Regions from separate parts of the Homo sapiens genome. Here region 1 is linked to region 2. Evidence: promoter capture Hi-C in human tissues and cell types (Jung and others, 2019). All regions are on one chromosome and are shown on one strand. Each heading gives the region's core, a stretch centred on a gene start or on the middle of the fragment in contact. The rest is flanking DNA. Distances are from core to core; before and after follow the strand shown.

Region 1 (5,153 bases), core at 2,519-5,018, 480 kb before region 2:
GGAATGGAGTTTTATGTTGTGCGTTTTAGGTGAGGCCAGGCTCATGGAAACACCCAGTCGGTGATCTTTGCCTCCAACATGTTTCAGCAAATTGCAAAAGATAATGCCAGGGGTTGGAGTGGGAATGAGTTCATATAACTTATTGGAAGTTTCTTCATCGGCCCTGCCCCCACAGATTCCTATCCAGTTTCTCTTTAATCATCCCTTCCAAATGGTGTATTTGTTCCTTCACAGCCAGAGGATAGTTTCTTCACTGTGGCCCTTGATCCACCATTTGGAGTTTCTTATCTAGGTTCTTACAATTTTTTTGGTCTACTGGGCATGAAGCAATTTTTGGGTCTTACCCTGCTTTCTGGGTGATGCTCTTCCTAGCTTTTCTCCGACACATCATATAGGCCCCTTTCCTCCCGTGTGCTGGCCAGCCTCCTAAGCAGCCACTCCAGTGAGGTCAGGGTGGAGCTGAGACTGTGTGCCTCCCTGCTTTCTACTGACAGTTCAAAAAATGTGACTTTTGTAGAGCACAACCCACTTGGTATACCCTTGGACACAGTCCAGTCTTTTAAAGCGTAAAGTTGAGAGAAACAATGGAATTCTTTCAGGATTATAATGTATAAATTAGCACTCAAAGTGCTGAGAAAGCTGGACTAAAATTTTAACATCTTAAGTTTCTCATTTTTCTGGGGACTCAACAAATTTAGGAATCCACATCAAAAGCAAAAAGAAAGAATGTACTTCTTTTAAACAATTTTCAGCACTTTCTATCCCTTTACTAAATAAATACCACCCATCCTACCAAAGGATTTAACTAAAAGCAGTTTTGACAGTAGCTATGTTGGCTGATTAGGCTGATGCCTAAGCATTCTTTAAGGAAAAATTGATGTAGTTGGTTAGATTGAAGGAGGTTTCTTCCAAGTTCTTTCTTCCTATTGAATTGCATCTGAAACGTTCCTTTGCTGCCCAGTTCTTTAGTGGGCAAGTTTTAGTTGGTGAGAGGTGAGAGAGACAGCCTGGATCCAGATCCATTGCTTCAACTCATTTTTTCTGAATTCCCTTCAGAGATCAAATTTAAGAATGCCTTCTGGGTTCAATTTTAAAAACTCCAAAATTTCTAAAGCAAAAGGAAGGAAACCTCAAACATATTTTAAATAACAGATGTTTGTTTTTACTGACACCCTGCCGTTTATTTTCTGGGTGGGCTGTAAGAAAACTAGGGTATGGACAAGACACAGAGGAGCAAAGCAAGTCCGACTCACTCTGCAGAAGTGTCCTCTTTGAAACTGCAGCCGGGATCTGGGCATAGGTCCAAAGCAAACATTTGAGATTTTTCAGGAGCAGACACTTTTCTGAGGAGGACTCCTGCTTGTCTGCTACTCGCAGGACAACCAAAATACATCATTATCAATTTCTTAACAATTCATCGAGCAGGCTCTATGAGGGCTGGGGCACTGGCTATTGGGACCCTGCTCAAAAAACCTGCAACCTAGTGAGGAAAGAAACAGAAACACAAATAACTAGAATTCAGGCCAAATGCTTTAATAGTATTCCATTAGCTGGTGAACTCCTCAAAGGCAAGCACCATGGAGAGCTTTGTGTGTGTGTGCATGTGTGTATGTGTGTGTGAACACCCTCATGCCTAACACCATGTCTGGGACATTCAAAGTAGGTGCTCAGGGAGGGAGAACCAAAAATGGAAAATTGAATTCCTCCTAAGGTAACTAAATTTGTGGAGTCCAGAATTGTTTTCCATAGAGAAAACTATGCAGAGAAAGATGTCTCCGCCTCCCTTCTTAAGACCTGTTGCTCAGACAAACATGTAGAGGGCATGTATAGGCATCAGATTAGAATACTTCAATAAAAGGTGAGTGGACAGCAAGGCTGTTATTATCCTGTGGAGCTCAGCAGTGAGATAGCAGCACTAGAAAAGCAAAAAGTAGAAGATGGGATGAATGAAACACGAGAAAATAGCAAGTGTTAGAAGAGAAGGAGCACAGTCATGTCATTCTGACTAGACCTGTTTAGCAGGACACATATTTTTCCTTTTGCGTATGGAATGTGCACTCCTGTGTACTCTATCTACTGTTCCGTTCATAGTTGAACACTTTTGGGGCCCCTTTCCTGGCCCTTCCCAGCTCTCACATCGTCCTCCTGAGCTCTGAGCTACAAGGCTTTCAGCCTAGTCCTGGGTAATCACACCTGCACCTCAGCTACTGCCCAAGGGATTGTGTGGTTCATTTATGCACATAACAGTTATATAGTGCTCCATGAATAAAAGCAGAATAATTTGTAGTTCTTAATCAAGAGAAGCTTAAATCTCAGGCAGACAAGTAAACAATTAAATGAAATTGAATGTTTCAGGTGCAAGAGTACGTTATTGGGGATAGAGAGGACACTGCAGCCCCTCAGCCCCAGCCCCAAGGCCCTCCTGTCAAAATGTGTCTAACCAGGATGCAGGAAGCCCACATCTGTCCAGGAATAGAGCTTGCAGAGTGGCTACGTGAGGGTGGAAATGCCAGATTGAAGTCCCTGAAGAACTTCAGTTTTGGCAGCTAGCAGTGCTGCAGACAGCCCTGCCCAGGCAAGCCCCACCCAAGAACGGAGGGCCAGGCAGGGCTGACTCAGTTGGGCAACCATTGGCTGCACTCAGACAAGAGTTACATGATTCATCCTCTAGCCAAGAGAACAGAGTTTTAATCACAACATTTCCCCCTTTCCTTTGTCTTATTTTAAAGCCAGTGTGCAACTCCTTCCCCAAAACAGAGTTCCTTGCTGTGGCCCTGGTCAGTGCCCTTTGGGGTACTGGTTGCTGAGGAGACAAGGGCTTCTCCACTGATTTTCAATGCTATTTTCACCTCCTGGCTACTCCCTCCTCTGCATCCTTATTGCAGAAGGCCTACTGGACACACAGGGAGTCAGCTGGCTGCAATATTCACAATCCATCCACTGAATAAAACCGCTGGGGGAGGAGGGGAGGGGAAGACCAAGTGGGAGAAGGATGTAACTTCAGAGAAGGAAGCTCCGTCACTTCGTAATGGCTGTGGGCAAGAGAGGCATGCGACTGAGTGACTTCAGACCTAAGCACTCACACAGTGTGAGGTAGACTCACCTTGCTCTCCTGAAGAAGATACTCAAGGGTGGCCAGGATTTCCTCAGCTGACAACTTGTATTTCTTAGAACCTCCTAAAATTAGCCTTTTTAAAATTTAGAGGTCCTTACCCTGCTGCATTCCCTTTCTTAATTCTGCACTTTCCTTCTGTCCTGTCATCTGAAAAAAGTAAACTAGGTACCCCACCCAGTTCCAATTTCTGGGATCTTTGGGAATTGATCCTGAAGTGCTCTGCTGCTCTGAACTTGAGCACAGGTATTTTTAAACCTCTGTGGTGTCTGACTCCTTTCCTGAGTTATTTAAGAACTGGGGTGGGATCCCACGTCCTTCTCCCAGAGGTGACTCGCCCAGTTCAGTTCTCTTAAATTGCTGGACTTGGAGTACCAGTCCAGGCAAGGCAGACTCTCTGTAAGCCCACTGCCATCTGAAACCCATATGAGGGATGGGGGATGAGCCAGATCTGAGCTGTGTCAGAAGAGAAGGAAAAGGGTGTGGTTCCCCTGGAATTCATCTCACAGCAGACCTTGAAGCATTAATTTGCAGCTCTCTCCAAGATAACTAACTGCCTTTCAGATGACTCATGCCAGATTCTGATTTATAGCATTCTTTGGCCTGCTGGTTCCCATACTTTTCTGGAGATTAAGGGGTAGAATTTACAATTCTTAAGTGTTAATTGCTCAATCCTCATGTTTACCCACTCCACCTTCTCCTCTGTAAAAGATAGCATTTGAGAATCAGTGTTGAACAGGCATCTCTCAGAGATAGGAACCAGACCAAAGCATGTCTCAGGTTCCCATTAGAGCTCTTCAGCAGAGGAATTTGCCAGCCCTTCAATCTAAGCTCAAAGCCTATTCTTGTGATTATTTATTTTTATTTTTTAGTGCTATATTACAGTCTCCATTCACGTTCACCTGTTTCCTATCCAGTAGTGATTTTAGGTGATATTAGCCAAAGCTTATCTGTTCTCGCCAAATGATTCCTTCCAATTAAGCCAAAATTCACTGAGGTTCTATTAAGTACCACGTACTGGGTCTTGTGAGACATATACCCCTAGTTCATTATACCCAAATGTAATGATCTGACATGTTTCCTTTCCTTTCTTATAAACGCTTCATGATGAAAGCTCTTGCTTTCCCACTGTACCCCAGACTGTGAGAGCAGCTCATCTGTCTAATGTCACTAAAAACATAGGAGGCCCTCAAATGAGTTAGGTTATAGTATTACTTGTTGCTTCTCAAGTGAACTAGACAATGGACTTTGAGTAGTTTTCTGTTTGGGTAGAGCAACTGTATTTTACTGCCAGAGATGCAACTGTCTTTATTGCAGTAAATAACAAGTTCAGAGCTTTAGTAAAGAATACATATAGGCCGGGCATAGTGGCTCACGCCTGTAATCCCAGCACTTTGGGAGGCCGAGGTGGGCGGATCACGAGGTCAGGAGATCGAGACCACGGTGAAACCCCATCTCTACTAAAAATACAAAAAAATTAGTCGGGCGCGGTGGCGGGCACCTGTAGTCCCAGCTACTCGGGAGGCTGAGGCAGGAGAATGCCGTGAATCCAGGAAGCGGAGCTTGCAGCGAGCCGAGATGGCGCCACTGCACTCCAGCCTGGGCAACAGAGCAAGACTCCGTCTCAAAAAAAAAAAAAAAAAAAGAATACATATATACCCAGCAGATAAATTCATTTGTAAGCAGATTTCTAAACCCTAGAATCACACTGAACCAAGTTACCACTTTAAGCTTAGAAGGGTGAAGTTTTCGTATTTACCAGACTTGACTGTGTGGATTGTTAGTATCAGCCATATCTAAGAATCCCATTTACTAGTGCCAAGAGAAATTATGAACTATCTGTTCTTTCAGTAGGTGCTTTGTCAGTTAAAAAGAGGAACACTGGGCCGGGCGCAGTGGCCTGTAATCCCAGCACTTTGGGAGGCCGAGGTGGGCGGATCACCTGAAGTCAGGAGTTTGAGACCAGCCTGCTCAACATGGCAAAACTCCGCCTCTACTAAAAATACAAAAAATTAGCCGGACATGGTGGCGGACGCCTGTA
Region 2 (5,307 bases), core at 823-3,322:
GGCACCCTTTTTCTCATAGTTAGAGATAAGAAGGTTCCCCGTGGATCCAAAAAGAATCCCCCAAGTGGACTCCTGCCCAGGTCCGCTGAAAGAGCAGAAACCTGAGAGCCAGGCTACAGCTGCTTGGCCAGTAGGGAAAAAAACACAATGAGGAACTGGGCCCCTGCAAACTGGCTGGACTGGTTTGAGAGGCAAGGGGAAGGGGAGGGCCGGGGAAACTACACTGGCAGCTTGTAAAGCAGACCAGAGAAATTCCACACCACGGAGGAGGCAGAGGGGCAAGACCACAGGCAGGGGCTCTCCAGCCTTGATGGCAAAGCCAAAGCTCTGAAGGAGAGGACAGAGGGCAGGGAGGGAACAGGCAGGAGGAGCAGATGAACAGGAACCTGGTGACAGGCCAGTATGTGACAGGGAGACTTTGTCTCCCTCCACCCCTCCCTTTGAGGTTCCCAAAGTTGCATTCCTGATCCCACACTTGCTTTGGCCACCTCCCTGGTCCTCAGTCCGCCCCTCCCTGGCACAAAGAGAAGAGCCCTACACCCCCATCACCTCCCACAAGGGGAATGGCATGCAGGCCAGCCTGGGAAACACAGGAAGGGTTCTAGGAAGCCAGAATCCTCTTAGAGTCGGGCAAATCTCTGGATTAGCAGTCCCCCAGAGCCAGCCCCCAGACTCCCAAACATCCAGGATGAAAGAAGAGATGCATAGGCATGTGTAGGCAGCCCATCTACAAACATAGCGGTTGCTAATTATTTCCCAATTACAACAACCTTCCTCAGGCAGGGCTTCAAAGGGGCCAAGCTAAGGTTGACTCTAGTTCCTTTACCTGCCTAAGGCAAAGAAATTTGCCTCCAGTCTTGTCTGGGCCCCAAGGTGCACCTTTCATCTGTCCTGGGGATTTGGAGTTGTAATTTCCCTAGTCTCGTGGTCTCCTGATGAGTCCTGCCTATTTCCTGCCCCAATAGTGCCTGCTGCCATTCTGACAGCCACCGCAGTTCAGGAGTCAGGGATGCCTGGAGGGCGTTCAGGGAGTAATGGGGATTCCTCCAGACATCAAGGAAATTGGTTGGGCTCCCAAACCTCATCCAATGGTCCCCATCTAGAACCACAGAAAAAATATGTGGGTACTTGGAGAAAGGGTTTGACATCCGCCCCCAGAAAGGGGCCTCCTGAGAAATAAGTATTAATATTTATCAATATTTTGCAGGACCAGGCAGGGCTCTTTGCTTCCTCATATCCCTCTCTTGGGGAGTACTCTCTCTCTCTCTCAAGAGGAAGAAGGAACGATTCTCCCTGGCACGAAAGCAAAGGACACAAAGTGAAAGCCTAATGGTTGTACACCTGGTGAAGAGATGAGGGTGCCCTCTCATCTGCCCCTCAGTGTCTCTGATTCGCAACTGCCTTCGGCCGGAGGTGAAGGGCTGGGGAAAAAATCCCACACCTCAGAGTCATCTCAAAGCCACCAGGGTGCTGACAACGGCCAGCTGAGACCGCAGGACGCAGGAAAGACCCTCAGGCGAGCAGCACCTGCAGATGCCCTCCCCTGGCGAGTCTGCACCTCAGGCAGCAGCAGTTCCCGACTCAGCTGGAACTAACTCCTTCCCCGCGCCACCGCTGTCTCCAAGAGAAATTCTGCCCCTAGGGCTGGCGTCTGACCTCCAGAGACATCTGGCGCTGAAACGCTTTCATGCGCTGGGAACAGCCTTCGCCCCAGGTGCCCCTCGCCTGGCACCTTCCTAGCCACCTGCATCTGGCACCTCAGGGTAGGGGTCGGCTCTTAATCAGTACCCCACCCCGCCCCAATCTCCCCTCCTCCCGTCTCCCACTCGGCACCGGTGCCCTGGAGAGGGGCATCTCACACCGCCTCGATGCCTGCCCCTCAAAGGTACCCCTGAAGGCTCGCTTTCCTCTCGGGTGCCCTGGCCCGCACCGGGTCCACTCACCCTAGCCGGGCTCCGCGCTCCCAGGCTTGCGTTCGGGCTCGGGCTCGGGCTCGGGCTCGGGCTCGGGCTCGGGCTCGGGCAAAGCAGCACGCGCAGCTCCGGCCCTCCCCCTCGTCCTCGGAGCTCCCTCCTTTCTCTCCCTCCCACCAACCTGTTACTCCGCTGCGGAGCTCCACCCCCGCGGGCCGTCAGTGCCCGCCCCGCCTTTCCCCGCTCCGGTTGGTCCGCTTCCCGTAGGGGGCGGGGCCTCCGGTGCGGGGACCGGGACCCGGGGTCTCCAGCCGCGAAGGGCGGGCCAGGTCACGTGGACCCACGGGCTGCGGAGCGTCGGGGCGGGGCGGCGAGGGGCGCGGAGGCCATTTTGGGGGCGTCGCGGATGGTCGCGAGTGACCGCCGGCCAAGATCCCGGGAGCCGTCGGCCAGAGCATCTTCTGGGCTCTGCTAGAAAACAGCCTCCTGCCTCCCGTTTACTCCAAGGGAATCGCCGGCCAGGGCCCTTTCTGTCCTTCACCTACCTCTGCAGGAACCAGAATGCTCTTTCGTCACTTTCTGCAGAAAATATCTCCGTTGTCCCCCGACGTCAGAGCCTCCTGCACCTCAGCTCGTCTCCCTTTTCCCTGACCCGAACCAGAACCCTGATCTTGGATTCTCTTTTATCTTGTGGCCTCCGCAATCATTTTGCAGCCTGACATCTTTTTCTATGTAATATTTATCACCTTCTAGTTAATAACATAATTTTAAAAATCATTTTCATCATTTTGCCTCCCGTCCTACGATAAGCTTCACCAGAGCAAGGATCTCTTGTTCTGTGCCTTGCTTCACCCCAAACGCCTACAACAGGGACTGGTACATACTACATGCTTAATAAATATTTGTTGACTGAATGAATGGAAACCGGGGACGCAAATTTACCAAAATAGGAATGACCTTCGTTCTAAACTGAAAGGGACTCAGTTGTAAATTTACCTCAGAGTTAGCCTCTCAAAAAGTAGGGATGCTGATCCCAGTTCCTAGAAAAGAGTAAAAACTAGGGGCTCTGCAAACTGCAGGACCGCTCATACCAGCTGCAGTTAAAACAACATTAAAGCTGGCATCCTAGCTGTTAACCGTTGAGATATGTAAAAAAGAGATTGACTTCGTTTACGTTGCTGGGCTCCGGATTTTGTTCTCATTTAGTTACAACAAATATTTACCCTGTATCTATTGGAGTAGAAGAGGAATCTTCGATGCAGCACAGATTCCGGTGTATTCTCGGGAGCTGGTTTCCGCCCCTCCCCAAGCCTTCAAAAGCTAGGTGTGGGTCCTACAGAGTAAAGTCCACTTACCAGCTCCTCAGCTGGGATGCAAAGTCTCTGCATTCCAGAGCAAGCTGTATATAAGGATTAGGGCCATCAAACCGGCCTGTTCCCTGGGGAGGAACAGCAAAAAACATGTAGTGGGGGTGGGGACAGAAGAGGAAATGTCCTTCCAGGAGCGCACCTCCTGAACACTGGGTGGCTTTTAAAAGACTTTTTTTTAAAAAATTTTTTCTTATTTTTCTTTTATTGTGCAGCCTCCTGAACCAGAATAGGTTCAGAGACACTCCCATGGGATGGTTTTTGGTTTGGGTTTTTTTTGTTGTTTTTTTTTTTTAAGACGGAGTCTTGCTCTATCGCCCAGGCTAAAGTCCAGTGGCGCAATCTCGGCTCACTGCAACCTCCGCCTCCCAGATTCAATTGATTTCCGGCTAATATTTTGTATTTTTTAATAAAGACAGGGTTTCACCAGGCTGGTCTTGAACTCCTGTCCTTAAGTGATCTGCCCACCTTGGCCTCCCAAAGGGCTAGGATTACAGGCGTGAGCCACCACACCCAGCCTGTTTTGGGTTTTTTTGTTTTTGTTTTTGCTTTAGTTTTGTTTTTTTCATTGAGACGGAGTCTCACTCTGTCACCCGGGCTGGAGTGCAGTGGTGCAATCTCTGCTTACTGCAGCCTCAGCCTCCAAAGCTCAAGCGATCCTCCCACCTCAGCCTCCTGAGTGGCTGGAACTTCAGGCGCCCACCACCACACCGGGCTAATTTTGGCATTTTTAGTAGAGATGGGGTTTCCATGTTGTCCAGGCTGGTCTTGAACTCCTGAACTCAAGCGAACCGCCTGCCTCGACCTCTCAAAGTACTGGGACTACAGGAGTGAGCCACCACGCTCGCCCCCACCAAGTGTTTGTAAGGAGATTTTTTTTTTTAATGTGGGATATTAAATTGACTCAGATATTGGAAAGGCGGAAGCGCCTAAACTCCCCTAGATAACACCTTAGCAATTAGGATACTTAGTATATTTGTAGTAAATACCAATTTGGGTGGTTACCCAGCACCATGAACACGAATTACAAGGATAAGTGGGAGCCTCTGAGTCACCGCCTTCGTCATCTGTTCTTCAAGGAAGCACTCAGTCTGAGAGGTACATCCAGGCACAAGTGACAAAGGCGACACCCTGGTCTTTTTCCAGAGTTCAGAAGACAGGTGATCCCTCTCCTTAAGAAATGCTACAGGGCCAGGCGTGATGACTCATGCCTCTAATCCCAGCACTTTGGGAGGCCAAAACAGGAGGATAGCTTGAGCCCTGGAGTTGGATCGCTTGAACCCAGGAATTCAAGACCAGCCTGGGCAACACAGTGAGACCCCATCTTTATAAAAAATAATAATAATAAAATTTTTTCAAAAAAGAAATGGCAAAATTGGCCAGTTTATAAATACAGCAAAAACAGAATTTATAGCAAATATAATACCCAGAAAGAAGAAATAACACTGATAGATGTTAAAGAGAGAAGTTTTATTTTATGAAATGGGATAATAGAGAAAGTTTTAGGTAAATTGCAGGTTTCATCAAAGAAGTGGATTTGCCATCCTCGCTAACATGGTGAAACCCCGTCTCTACTAAAAATACAAAAAATTAGCTGGGTGTGGTGGTGGGCGCCTGTAGTCCCAGCTACTTGGGAGGCTGAGGCAGGAGAATGGCCTGAACCCAGGAGGCGGAGCTTGCAGTGAGCTGAGATCTAGCCACAGCACTCCAGCCTGGGCGACAGAGCGAGACTCCATCTCAAAAAAAAAAAAAAAAAAAAGTGGATTTGGAACCAAATTCCTCTCCTGCAATTCTTTCCTGAATTCTCCAAGATTCACTGATACCACTAGCAACTCTACTGAATTGTTCTCTCAAAGATCACCCGTTTAAGGCCGGGCACGGTGGCTCATGCCTGTAATCCCAGCATTTTGGGAGGCCAAGACAGGCGGATCACGTGAGGTCAGGAGTTCGAGACCAGCCTGGCCAACATGGTGAAACCCTGTCTCTACTAAAAATACAAAAATTAGCCGGGCATGGTGGTACATGCT

Evidence for each region. Contacts are between HindIII fragments. The study calls those that stand out against the background at their distance.
Region 1: a contact is called between a fragment that was not itself captured here and the fragment with the promoter of CGN in region 2, in 2 of the 25 tissues and cell types used here (H1 embryonic stem cells and IMR-90 fibroblasts).

The regions. Positions count from the first base shown.
Region 1 is chr1:151,987,143-151,992,295 of GRCh38, reverse strand. All of the region lies in intron 1 of S100A10 (S100 calcium binding protein A10), which reads left to right. Among named protein-coding and RNA genes, the nearest start is that of S100A10, 4.1 kb to the left of the region's middle. RefSeq lists an enhancer at 1-397. The HindIII fragment of the contact is 5,250 bases long and covers 1,144-5,153 here.
Region 2 is chr1:151,508,152-151,513,458 of GRCh38, reverse strand. CGN (cingulin) reads right to left here and starts at 2,072. Exons shown (of 21, transcript NM_020770.3): 1 at 1,944-2,072. RefSeq lists enhancers at 1-112, 113-689, 1,552-1,691, 1,843-2,418, 2,419-2,995 and a silencer at 2,022-2,421. The HindIII fragment of the contact is 12,501 bases long and covers 1-5,307 here.